Regions from separate parts of the Homo sapiens genome. Here all the other regions are linked to region 2. The links are contacts of gene promoters, found by promoter capture Hi-C in human tissues and cell types (Jung and others, 2019). All regions are on one chromosome and are shown on one strand. The core of a region is centred on a gene start or on the middle of the fragment in contact, and the rest is flanking DNA. Distances in the headings are between cores, read along the strand shown. Region 1 overlaps UBE3D (ubiquitin protein ligase E3D). Region 2 holds the start of TPBG (trophoblast glycoprotein). Region 3 overlaps DOP1A (DOP1 leucine zipper like protein A).

What was found. The method cuts DNA at HindIII sites, captures the fragments that hold promoters and counts their contacts. A contact is called where the count stands out against the background at its distance.
Region 1: a fragment that was not itself captured here is called in contact with the fragment with the promoter of TPBG in region 2 in 3 of the 25 tissues and cell types used here (heart right ventricle, lymphoblastoid cells and neural progenitor cells).
Region 3: a fragment that was not itself captured here is called in contact with the fragment with the promoter of TPBG in region 2 in 2 of the 25 tissues and cell types used here (IMR-90 fibroblasts and neural progenitor cells).

The regions. Positions count from the first base shown.
Region 1 is chr6:83,042,068-83,045,718 of GRCh38, forward strand. UBE3D (ubiquitin protein ligase E3D) reads right to left here. Exons shown (of 10, transcript NM_198920.3): 4 at 2,361-2,592. Among named protein-coding and RNA genes, the nearest start is that of UBE3D, 22 kb to the right of the region's middle. The HindIII fragment of the contact is 9,560 bases long and covers 1-3,651 here.
Region 2 is chr6:82,361,894-82,365,559 of GRCh38, forward strand. It overlaps TPBG (trophoblast glycoprotein), which reads left to right and starts at 1,924. Exons shown (of 2, transcript NM_001376922.1): 1 at 1,924-2,015; 2 at 2,730-3,666. The coding sequence starts at 3,069. It overlaps LOC105377875 (a long non-coding RNA gene), which reads right to left and starts at 1,764. Exons shown (of 3, transcript XR_942738.4): 1 at 1,719-1,764. RefSeq lists enhancers at 1,357-1,870, 1,871-2,382, 2,534-3,436, 3,437-3,666 and a silencer at 3,405-3,484. The HindIII fragment of the contact is 6,837 bases long and covers 1-2,928 here.
Region 3 is chr6:83,083,475-83,087,586 of GRCh38, forward strand. The region is part of intron 1 of DOP1A (DOP1 leucine zipper like protein A); the gene reads left to right. Among named protein-coding and RNA genes, the nearest start is that of DOP1A, 18 kb to the left of the region's middle. RefSeq lists an enhancer at 3,370-3,519. The HindIII fragment of the contact is 4,029 bases long and covers 1-3,309 here.

The DNA.
Region 1 (3,651 bases), core at 763-3,262, 680 kb after region 2:
CCCGGCTAATTTTTTGTAGTTTAGGAGAGACAGGGTTTCACCATGTTGGCCAGGATGGTCTCAATCTCCTGACCTCATGATCCACCCGCCTCAACCTCCCAAAGTGCTGGGATTACAGGCATGAGCCACTGCGCCCGGCCCAAGATGCAAAATTTGTATTATGTGGGCAGGCACAAAATAGCACAAGAGAGGTGATAAATGAATACACCAATAGGGAAATCTTCAGCAGGTATCTTTTAAAAATAAGTAGATACTGCTGCAATAACAAAGCCTCCAATAAAGTATTATAAACTCTAAAAGGCTATGGAAGAAAAGAAAGTGTTGGGCTTCATGTTTGTTTGTGCTGTTTTTAAAAGCAGATCTTTTTAATTAAACATATTATAGCACATAAATTTCATTTAAAGAGAATCTCTGCTTTGTAATGCATTTTTCTTCACCTATCCTTCAAGGAAATAATAAGGCAAGTTGTGTAATGAAGCAGCCTAACAGTGTGGGAACTCTACAGAGCAAACCTCAAAGACAGACATTGTTGTGCACTAATTAAGTCAATATATCTGAGACACCACAGGGCTGCTCAGAGAGGTGGATTAGCCTCGTGTCCTCCCTTTTATTTTCCCTTTGTGTCGTTTCAATTTCTAAGGACCCTTGATATTGTCTCATCAAAAAAATGTTTCCCAAGAGATACCATTAGGATGCTTTGTTACTATGTGACATTTCAAAACCCTGCTAGATGGCTAGACTGGGTGATAGGAGAAATAGGTTTTCAATAGCACAGAACAGCCTTGTTCCCACAGGAGCCTTGAGAGCGCTGTTTACGCAGTCCCTCCAAATTTATGTTTCTATTTTGGTCACAGGCACACTCTTTGGACTGCTACAATATACAATTAAAGAGGGACTTTCATCTAGGCTAACTTGAAGAAAATCTTTTCAACAGCATCTTGTCTTGATAGTACAGAATTTCCCACAGTCTCCTTGATACTAAAACTGTAATGTCTAAAAATATGATGGGTCTTTCTTTAATGGATAAGATAGCTGTTTACTATGAAGAGAAATTCTTGTAAATGGCATCACATAACTGATAAAGATGTAAATGTGATGAATATATTTCAGCACAGAGTGCTGAGTTTATTTAAAAAGGGAAACATGGTTTCTCTGATTCAATCTTTCTCTACTACTTTTCTGCTCACAACTTCCAAATGTTTTTGAAATGTATAGCTTAATCATAAAGATGAAATTTAAAACACATATAAAGTATTAGTATATATTTAGATTAAAATACAAATTTAATTAATCATATTAAATATAACAAATATATATTAACTTACTATTTACCTTTTAAAATATAAAATGTAAAGTACTACATTTCACCAAAGTGAACCATATTTAGATAAAGGGATTTCTGTTTACAGTGTAAAATGAGGCACTTAAATAACTTTATCTGACAACAACTTAACCTCCACATTTGACGAATTTCCTTCATCTCCCTCAGAATAGTTCTATAAACTAATTTACAACCTAAGAGCTGCCCACCTACTGCATATTTCCTGCAGTCGCTCAGTTATTATTACAAAAATTAAATGAGTTCTGAATGAAATTTAAAATACAATGTTTTAGTTCCCACCAATAATCAGATGTTAAAATGATTCTCTGGGAATGATTTTACTTTTTAAATAATATCTGTATTGACTGGCCATCAGTGGAATGCTTTCTCACATGGGCCAAGCCAATGCCATTGATTTTCTTTTAAAATAAAGTAAAACACTTGTTCTCTGCAGTGAGAGAAAATTGCCTTCTTCCCAAAGCAACTTATGCAGCAAGAGCCACCTGACCTCACACTGTCAAGCACCAACTCAGACCCTGAAACACAAGCTTTATCTCCATTCCTGGGCTCCTCCATTCCTCTTTTTACTTGATGACATCTCCATTTATGACTTCAGCAGAAGTCTAGACTATGGGCAGAAATAGTAAAATACCTCAGCCTAATAGTATAGTAGATATCCTGGAGCAAGACAACACTTTTAACCTAAATCAGACTATTTAGGATAAAATGCACACAAATTATGCAATATTGTCCTAAGAACAAGAAAGCAAGACATTTTGTTTGTAAAATGGTAGCACTCGCAATTCTAAGCCTGCAGAGGTCTTCCTCTCCTTATTCTTCCAGGCGCCTGTGGCTGTTTTAGTTTAAAGCCATATGCTCTTCCTGTTTTGATAAAGCAACGATAGCGATGACAGTTGAAAATAATGAATTTTGGCCTTTACAGCAGTCTATGTAACAAGCCCTTAATTAGGAAAAGATTGAAGAAGTCAGTATCTAAGACAGCCTCTAAATTACCATTTATTTTGAAATGATATTTTACCAATTTACAATGGTTGTCAGAAGAAACACAGCACATCTCCACTGGGGATAGTTCAGGTCTTTGCTGCCACAAACTGGTTCTTAAATTCACCAAGAAGAAAGAGTCTCCAATAAAACAGTCATTCTCTTGCGGATGAAGTGATTTATTAGCAAAGGGGTCAGGATGACAACACCATTCTCCAACTAGAGCTCCCCAGTTCTCACTCGGCAGTGGGAGCACCCTGAGGAGCTTCCTAGTGGAAAGAGGAAAAATCATTTTTCACAGAACAAAATGATACTAACATTTTCTTAATTAAATGACCATAAAAGATGAAAGAAACTCATTAACCACAAGGTTTGCAATGCTAATTTTTTCCCCAATTATAAAAGTAATATATACTCACTACAGCTAATTTTGAAAATGCAAGGAGGTATAAACAAGGAAAAATCATCCTTTATCTCACTACCCAGAGATAAGTAACTAAACATGACAGTGTATTTCTTTGCCATCCGTTCAAAAGATATATCTGTACATATCACACGAAGTTTGAGAATCGTGAATAAACATACTATATCTTGCTTTTGTTGTTTTATTTAGATGAATCCTAATTAGTCCACAATATTCTATTCCATAAGTACATCAAAACTTTTGAGATGATTCCCTCAACTGTTAGATATTTAGGTTTTGAGTTTTTCATTATCAATAACTCTGTGATGAATGTTCCTGTTAGAATATTTATGAACATATCTATTTTCCTTGGAAAGAATCCTATATAAGTGTGAGATGATAAGCACAAACTATATGCATATTTTAAAACCCAACACCTATTTGGTGAATTTCTTTTCAGAAAGGCTGTGCCAATCTATAATTCTTCCACTCACCCTTTTCATAAATGAATACTATCATTTTTCCATTTCTGCATTAGTAATAGGTAAAAGTATTTTCAATGCTGCTTTAACTGGCAACTCTTAAATTACTGGTGAGATTCATCTAGTTTTGCTACTTATAGTCTACTGTGTTTCTTCTGTGAATTGTGATTAGTGACTATTTTCCAGGGTGGTATTATTATGTTCTTATTAATTTGTAAAAATGTGTTCTATATTAAGAGTATTAGCCTCATGCTTATTAATCTGTTACAAATTTTTTTGGTGTTACTGCCTTTTATTTTGGTTTACGTGTCTTAATGGTCAGATCACCTAACAACTTTCTTCTATAATTTCTTCTATTACTATATTTTAGTAAACTTTTCATTTTGGAATAACTTTAGATTTACAGAAAACTTACAAAGGTAGTGTATTAGTTCCCATATACA
Region 2 (3,666 bases), core at 674-3,173:
TGGAGTGAGAGGACCTAACTTGAGTACCGAAGTGAAGAGTCAATGAGATAATATCTGTGATCAGCACAGTGCTTGGCAAGTGGAAGACACTCAGTCAAGCTAACTTAAAGCCCCAGTTTTTTCATTTGTACAACAGAACAACAACAATAATAGCAACAAGCAATAATACTAACAATATTTATCTTGCCTCTGAGTTGTCTTGAAAATCAGATGAGTATATATATTATGTTTCTAAATTCTAAAGTGTATCTCACTCTCCTAACAAAGCAGTTGGTCTTCAGATCAGGACCAGAGTTAATACCATGCCAGAGCATTATTACAGGTTTTTTCCAATGAGTAATTAATTTTATTTTTAAACTTATCATACAGTAAAATTGACTCTTTTGGTTTACAAAGTTCTATGAGTTATAACACGTTGTATAGGTTTATGTAACCACCACCACAATCCGGATACAGAACATGACTACAGCTTTAGAGATTCTTTTTCAAAGTGTTTTACATTCATGTTGCAAAACACTTTTAAAAATAAGAAAAGAGATGTAGATAAACGTGCTGAAGATGCAAATTAATGAAACCAGCTTTTGTGCACAAATCTCTGCAGTTTCCAGTGTTTTCAGCTTTTGTCTGAGCCATTTTTGCTGTCGGCTTTGCAGACTATCTCTTTCTATAAAAGTAATCAGGCGTCCGTTGGAGAGTTGGGGTCTTTCTTCACACTAAAGGCACATGTCCCAGGCACAAGCCTCAGGATCCTTATTTGATCTTTTTTAATACGACCAGGTCTTAAATTTCCGAACCATGTTTTCCCTAATTGCCATTTTCTCTCTAAAATGAAGAAGCCTGGAAGAACCTTCTTATCCCTTCGGGGAAATTATTTAATTGGGACAAAGGGGATGTGGAGTTACAGAGAGCAACGATAGGGCTTTCAGAACCCAAAACCTGTCTGGTATAATAACAGATCCTTCCGGTAACCAACCATTCAATTTGTCCCTCTCCCCAACCCCATCCTCTCCATCACCATCTGCCAGATGCCCCCTGGGACAATCGACTTTGAAACCAAACTTCTCTCCCAGGTCAGCTCCTGCAATCCCCACTCCTCATCCTTGGAGCTTTCTCCACAGAAGTGACTTGACACACCGCGCTACATCTGGGGAGGGGGGCGGGTCCGCTTTCCGGGAGACTCAAGTCTTTGCTATTTGCCTTTTGTTTCTGGGATGCCTTTGGCTGCCTTTCTCTTCCATCTGCTTTTAATTTTGGTAAGAGAAAAGCTAATGAATCAGGAATGAATCTCCTCTCCACTAATCTTTTTTTTTTCTTTCTCTCTCTCTCTCTCTTAAAGTTGGCGCGCTCTCTTCACAAGTTCCATCACTACCCAAGAAGTGAGGGGGCGGGGGGGACAGGCGGGAAGGCATTAATTACACCTAAATCTGAAGTTTGCGGCCTCAAGTACCACTTTGATGGGGAGAGCTTCTGAAGCTTCCATACAACCTGCCGTGCCTTTGCTGCTGCCGCAGTAGATTTTCAGCTCATTTCTTTCTGCTGCTGCTTCGCGCTGCTCTGTCATGCCTAAATCTATCTCGTCACTGCCAAAGGTGCCTGAATCAGGGTGAATTCCACGAGATTCACCAGCGGTTTTGCTCCAGTCCAAGGTAAATACAGTATGCAAAATGAGGAACCACCCAAGGATGTCGGGGAGGGGGGAGAGAAAGGGATTCCCTCACCTTTTCCGGCACATTCCTCGTTAATTTCCACCAGGAGGAGGCGCGCAGCCCAGCTCCCCTAGTCTCTCTTCTTAAATCCCCCTACCTACGGCTGCCGAGGTTGGCCGCGCGTCGGGAATCTCCCCGACAGTCCTGGCCCTCCCCCGCCCCCCGGGTTGGTTTTTCCCAGCTGCGGAGGTTGGGAGGTTGGGCCAGGGGCTGGGGTGCGAAGAGAGTCGGCGCCCGCAACGCGGAGCCGGGAAGTCGTCGCTACTCTGGTGGAACTCAGAGTTGGTTCTGGAGGCGGCGGACGCGGAGGTGAGCAGTGGGAGCCCGCGGCCTGGGAGAGACCCGGGAGGCGTCGTTGGGGCCCCTCCCCATCCTCGGGTGGAGAGTAGGGTTGGTTCGGGTTGCCACTGTACCCCGAGTCCCACTGCTGCTTTGTTCCCAGACTCTCCCCTCCTCTTTGGAGATGACTTGAACCCCTTTGAGATCCGAGGGGCTGGCGGGGCGCGGGCTGGGGGGCGACAGTTGTAGCTCCACTTCCTGCTAATGCGAGAAGGTACAAAAAGAGATCAAAAAGTCCTGTAACCTGAAACTTCCCTCGCATCCTAACCGGGACCTGGTGGAGAGGTCTGGGCGGGGGCGGAGACACCCGGAGGCCGACCTTCCGCCGAGGCGGTGCAGGAAGGAACGGGAGAGGGAGAAGTTTGGTAGGGAAGGAATTGGGGATTAAGCGGTAAGTTAGACGCGGGAGACGAGTCTCCTCGGGAAAGGCGGAGGGCGGGAGGCCGGTCGGGTTTATTTAGTGTGGGCCAGGGAAGAAGGAAGACTTTGCGGTCTGGGTGTCGGATGCGCGTCCCCCTCCGGAGTAAAAGTGACCGGAGGGGTTGGGGAGGCGAGGCCGGGGCGGGCTTTTGGAAGGAGGTCTCTGGGACAGACTGGAGACGACTAGACTCGAAAAGGCCGGTTTTTGCACTCCGGAAGCCGCGGCAGCCACCGCTGTTCACGCCTCTCTCCTGCTTGTCCCAGGTCCCTCAGAGGATCCAGCGAGGGGCGCCAACAAGAGGCGAAGAGGTGGCACCAGGGCGGCGGCAGGAAGAGGAGCGGGAGCAGGAGCGCGGAGCGGAGCGTCCCGACCCGCCGTGCGTACTTTCTGGAGGGAAGGGGCGGGGGAATCGGCCCCTGAGGGAAGCGCCCGGTGGCGAGGGGGTTAGCCAAGTTCCGGCTGCGGCGCCACTCCCTCGGTTCCACGAGAGGAAAGTTTTTTTTTTCCAGACGCTTCCGCCGGCTCGCGCCCTCCGGGCCCAGCCTCCCGAGCCTTCGGAGCGGGCGCCGTCCCAGCCCAGCTCCGGGGAAACGCGAGCCGCGATGCCTGGGGGGTGCTCCCGGGGCCCCGCCGCCGGGGACGGGCGTCTGCGGCTGGCGCGACTAGCGCTGGTACTCCTGGGCTGGGTCTCCTCGTCTTCTCCCACCTCCTCGGCATCCTCCTTCTCCTCCTCGGCGCCGTTCCTGGCTTCCGCCGTGTCCGCCCAGCCCCCGCTGCCGGACCAGTGCCCCGCGCTGTGCGAGTGCTCCGAGGCAGCGCGCACAGTCAAGTGCGTTAACCGCAATCTGACCGAGGTGCCCACGGACCTGCCCGCCTACGTGCGCAACCTCTTCCTTACCGGCAACCAGCTGGCCGTGCTCCCTGCCGGCGCCTTCGCCCGCCGGCCGCCGCTGGCGGAGCTGGCCGCGCTCAACCTCAGCGGCAGCCGCCTGGACGAGGTGCGCGCGGGCGCCTTCGAGCATCTGCCCAGCCTGCGCCAGCTCGACCTCAGCCACAACCCACTGGCCGACCTCAGTCCCTTCGCTTTCTCGGGCAGCAATGCCAGCGTCTCGGCCCCCAGTCCCCTTGTGGAACTGATCCTGAACCACATCGTGCCCCCTGAAGATGAGCGGCAGAACCGGAGCTTCGAGGGCATGGTGG
Region 3 (4,112 bases), core at 45-2,544, 720 kb after region 2:
CAGTCTGCCAGAGTTCTTCCTGGTTCTTCCTTTTATTCTCTGTGGCACCTTGAACACTAATTGCCTTATATGAACATGGATTCATGTGTATATCTACCTCATGGATGTATTGTGAAGATACATGAGATAATTCACATGAAAGGGCTTAGTATAGTGCCTGGCACAGAGTAATTTGTAAGTCAGTATCAACTGTGATTATTATCATCATCTTGAGTAATACGTGGACAATGTTTATTTGGCTACTATGCTTTGGAGACAGGATGATCCTTTGTAACTCAAGGGTATGTGCTTAAGTGTTTATTATTATGGCTGTTTGCCATTTGAAGCTTAAAGTAGAATCCCACCTACCTGCTAATGGCTCATTCCAAGTTATAAATGGTGCTTATGTTTTGTATTTTCTAAAATTAATATTTTCATATTGCTATGTGTACCAGAAATCACAGAATTTGAAATGAGAAAGAATCTGATTTTATAGCATTCAGAGACAATTTTTAATAACGTATATAATTTTGTGTATATTTACTTGGTAAAAAAAGAAATCGTAAAGTTAAATCAGCTTCACTGTCACCTTGGCAGATCTATGGGCTTTTAAACCTCTTGTGTCTTAGGTTTTTATTCGTATAGCTTTTCTGAGACCTAAAGTGAAAATATAAATAGTCATATGCTGTATAACATTTCAATGATGGCCCACCTATGTAACAGTGGTCCCGTAAGGTTTTAATACTGTATTTTACTGTACTTTTCTATTTTTAGGTACACAAATACTTACTGTTGTGTTACAGTTACCTACAGTATTCAATATATAACATGCTGTACAGGTTTGCAGCCTAGGAGCAATAGGTTATACCATATAGCCAGGATGTGTAGTAGGGTTTACCATTATGTCTGTTTAAGCATGTTCTATGAATGTTCACACAATAACTAAATCACCCAACAACACATCTCAGAACATATTCCCATCAAGCAATGCATGACTATAAATAAGTACATAAAGTATAATAAAACTTTTTCCAAATTTTTCTCCAGCTTGAGATTTGCAGCTAATTAATTTGAAAAGATTTGACTTCGACGTCTGGGAGTATCATACCTAAGTAGTTTGTTTTTTTTGTTTTGTTTTGTTTTTTTTGAGACAGAGTCTTGCTTTGTAGCCCAGGCTGGAGTACAGTGGCACCATTTTGGCTCACTGCAGCCTCTACCTCCTGGGTTCAAGCGATTCTTGTGCCTCAGCCACCCAAGAGGCTGGGATTACAGGCACGCACCACCACACCTGGCTAATTTTTGTATTTTTTTTTTTTTTTAGTAGAGATGGTTTCACCATGTTGGCCAGGCTGGTCTCGAACTCCTGGCCTCAAGTGATCTGCCTGCCTTGGCCTCCCAAAGTGCTGGGATTACAAGCATGAGCCACTGCACCCAGCCTAAATAGGATTTTTTAAATCTCCTTTCACAGGGCTGGAATGACTTCCTTCACATTTAGATAGTTATGTTTAATACAGATTAAACTGAGCCAGTTTTTTAAAAGTGTAACTGGAATGTACACATTTTTATAAATGTTCTTAGGCAATCTGTTTTTTAAAGCACTTAATAGCCATGTGAATGTATTCTGTATTTGAGGAGAGTAAGGTCAAGTGTGACTATACTAGTTAAGAAATAGAACTGTAGTTCTGCTTTTTATTTTTCTTCTACAAAGCTTTTCTCAGAAAAAACAAACGAAAATGGTTTAACTATATTGTCGTTGATAGATTAGTTCATTTATTCAGATTATATTTGAGGCCCTACTGTTTATCAGCCACTATTATGGGACTGCCGATGCAGGTATGAACAACTAAGATAAGGCTATTGACTTCATAGTATTTGCATCCCATTGAGAGATGATAGACAGGAAACAAGCAAATAAATAGGAAAATTTCAAAGTGTAACAAATGCTAATAAGGAAATAATGTGATGTTATAGGGTATGTGGTAAGAGTTTGGCCCCAGGCAGGCTACTTAGACTGATCAGAAAGAACTTTTGGTAGGGTTTGATATTACTGGAGGACGGGAAGAAATCTGTCACATAGAGTTGACCAAAGAGATTTTAAATGTAGAGAATAGCAAGAACAAAATGCCTAGAATGCAAAAAAAATTGGTGTATTTGAGTTTGGATATTATTCTAAGCTTTGTATTGGAATATTTGTATTTAGGGTATAGCTAAGATGTTGCTGTTTCTGCTGTATCAGAAGAGGTCTTATCCTTAGAGAATAATTAAGACTAGAAGGTGACCAGGACAAGCTTTGAGGAAAACCATTGATGGGTTTTTTGCGGTATTTTATGTTATGTTATGTTATGTTATGTTATGTTATGTTATGTTATGTTATGTTATGTTATTTTGAGACAGAGTCTCGCTCTATCGCCATTGACAGGTTTTAGGCAAAGGAATGACATAATGTGTCTCTGGCTTCTCTGTGGAGGATGAATTATGCAGACTCTCAAGAATAGAAGCAGGAATCAGTGGTGTGCTGGAGTGGGCTATAACTGGTTAGAATAATAGAAGAGGAAAAGTGGCAGGTATAGATTTAGGACACATCAGTTAACAGATGCTATTGGAGCTATAGGACTATAGGAGATAACCTAAAGGGAAAGAAGAGAGGAGGGTTCCTGATTGAACCTTGAAGTAAGGCTGACCCATGAATCGAAAATCCACGTATAATTTTTGACTCCCCAAAAACTTTACTAATAGCCTACTATAGACTGGAAGCCTTACTGGTAACATAAATGGTTGATTAACACATTTGTAGGTTATATGTATAATATGCTGTATTCTTATAATGAAATAAGCTAGAGAAAAGAAAATAGTAAGAAAACCATAAGAGAAAATATATGTACTGTTCATTAAGTGGAAGTGGATCATCACAAAGATCTTCATGAACCTCATTGTCTTCACTGTGAGTGGGCAGAGGAAGAGGAGGAGAAAGAAGAGAGGTTGGTCTTGCTGTCTTGGGTAGGTAGTAGAAGTGGAAGAAAATCCACGAAGAAACGGACCCATGCAACTCAAATTGCATGTTTTTCAAGACTCAGCTGTACCTCAGCATTTAAAATTGAATAGAAAAGAGAAGCCAACATAAACTGAAAAAAAGAGGCTAAGAGATAACAAACCTTGAGAGGGAAGAGTCCCGGAAGCCAAAAACAAGGTATTGAATACTGCTGAGTTGAATAAAATGAGGGGCTACAGAAGTGACCTTTGGCTTTGGTTAAAGCACATTATGGGTGATTTTTATACGGGTTTTTTTCCTGGAGGGACAGTCCCATAGGCATTTCACGGAGTCTGAAGAGTGAATAAAAGATAAGGAAAAAATAGCAAATATAGAGAAATCTTTCAGGTTTTGCTATGAGAGAATAAAGAAATGGGTTGGCAGCCAGAGAGCCTGTGGGGGTCAAGGAAAGGCTATGGGTTTTAATTTTAGTTTTAGTTTTAGTTTTAGTTTTAGACCATGAGAGATTCGGGGGGTAGACTTTAGGCTGTAGACAGGAAAAGAAACTGATAGTATTGAAGGAGCCTGAGCTAATAGTCCTTGGGAAGGCAAGAGGAGACCAGATTCAGAACACAGCAAGAGGGAGGCCTTTACTGGGAGGAAGGTCCTTTGTCCTTCATAATGGAAAGAAAAGTAGAGAATATGGGTATAGGTGAAGATAGGTTACAGATTTGTTGGAGGGAAGGTAAGAATATTCTTTTTGCTTCCATTTTCTTAAGTTTGAAACTAGATCTTTAGCAATGATGGAGGGAAGACAGTATTAGGATTTTGAGAAGAGAAGGTATGAAATAGTTGTGTCAAGAACTTAAATTTACTAAGGAAACAGTGGGTTAGGATAGTGTTGAGTACCTGTTTGAAGTTTGTGCTTCTCAATTTAAGTCAACCTGATTGTATGATTTTTTTCTCCAATGTTTAGTTGCTCATTTTCAGGCTGAAAACAAAAAAAAACATGTAGTTGAGTTTAACCAGGATTGGAGTTTTGTCAGATGAGTATAAAGAGGAAGATTCCACACTCTTTACCCCAAGGTAGGATGGGTATGAGAAGGAAAACAGCCTCCGTGAAAGTGAAGAGTAATGACTAGGAGTTAGGACTCTAAAGCCAAAT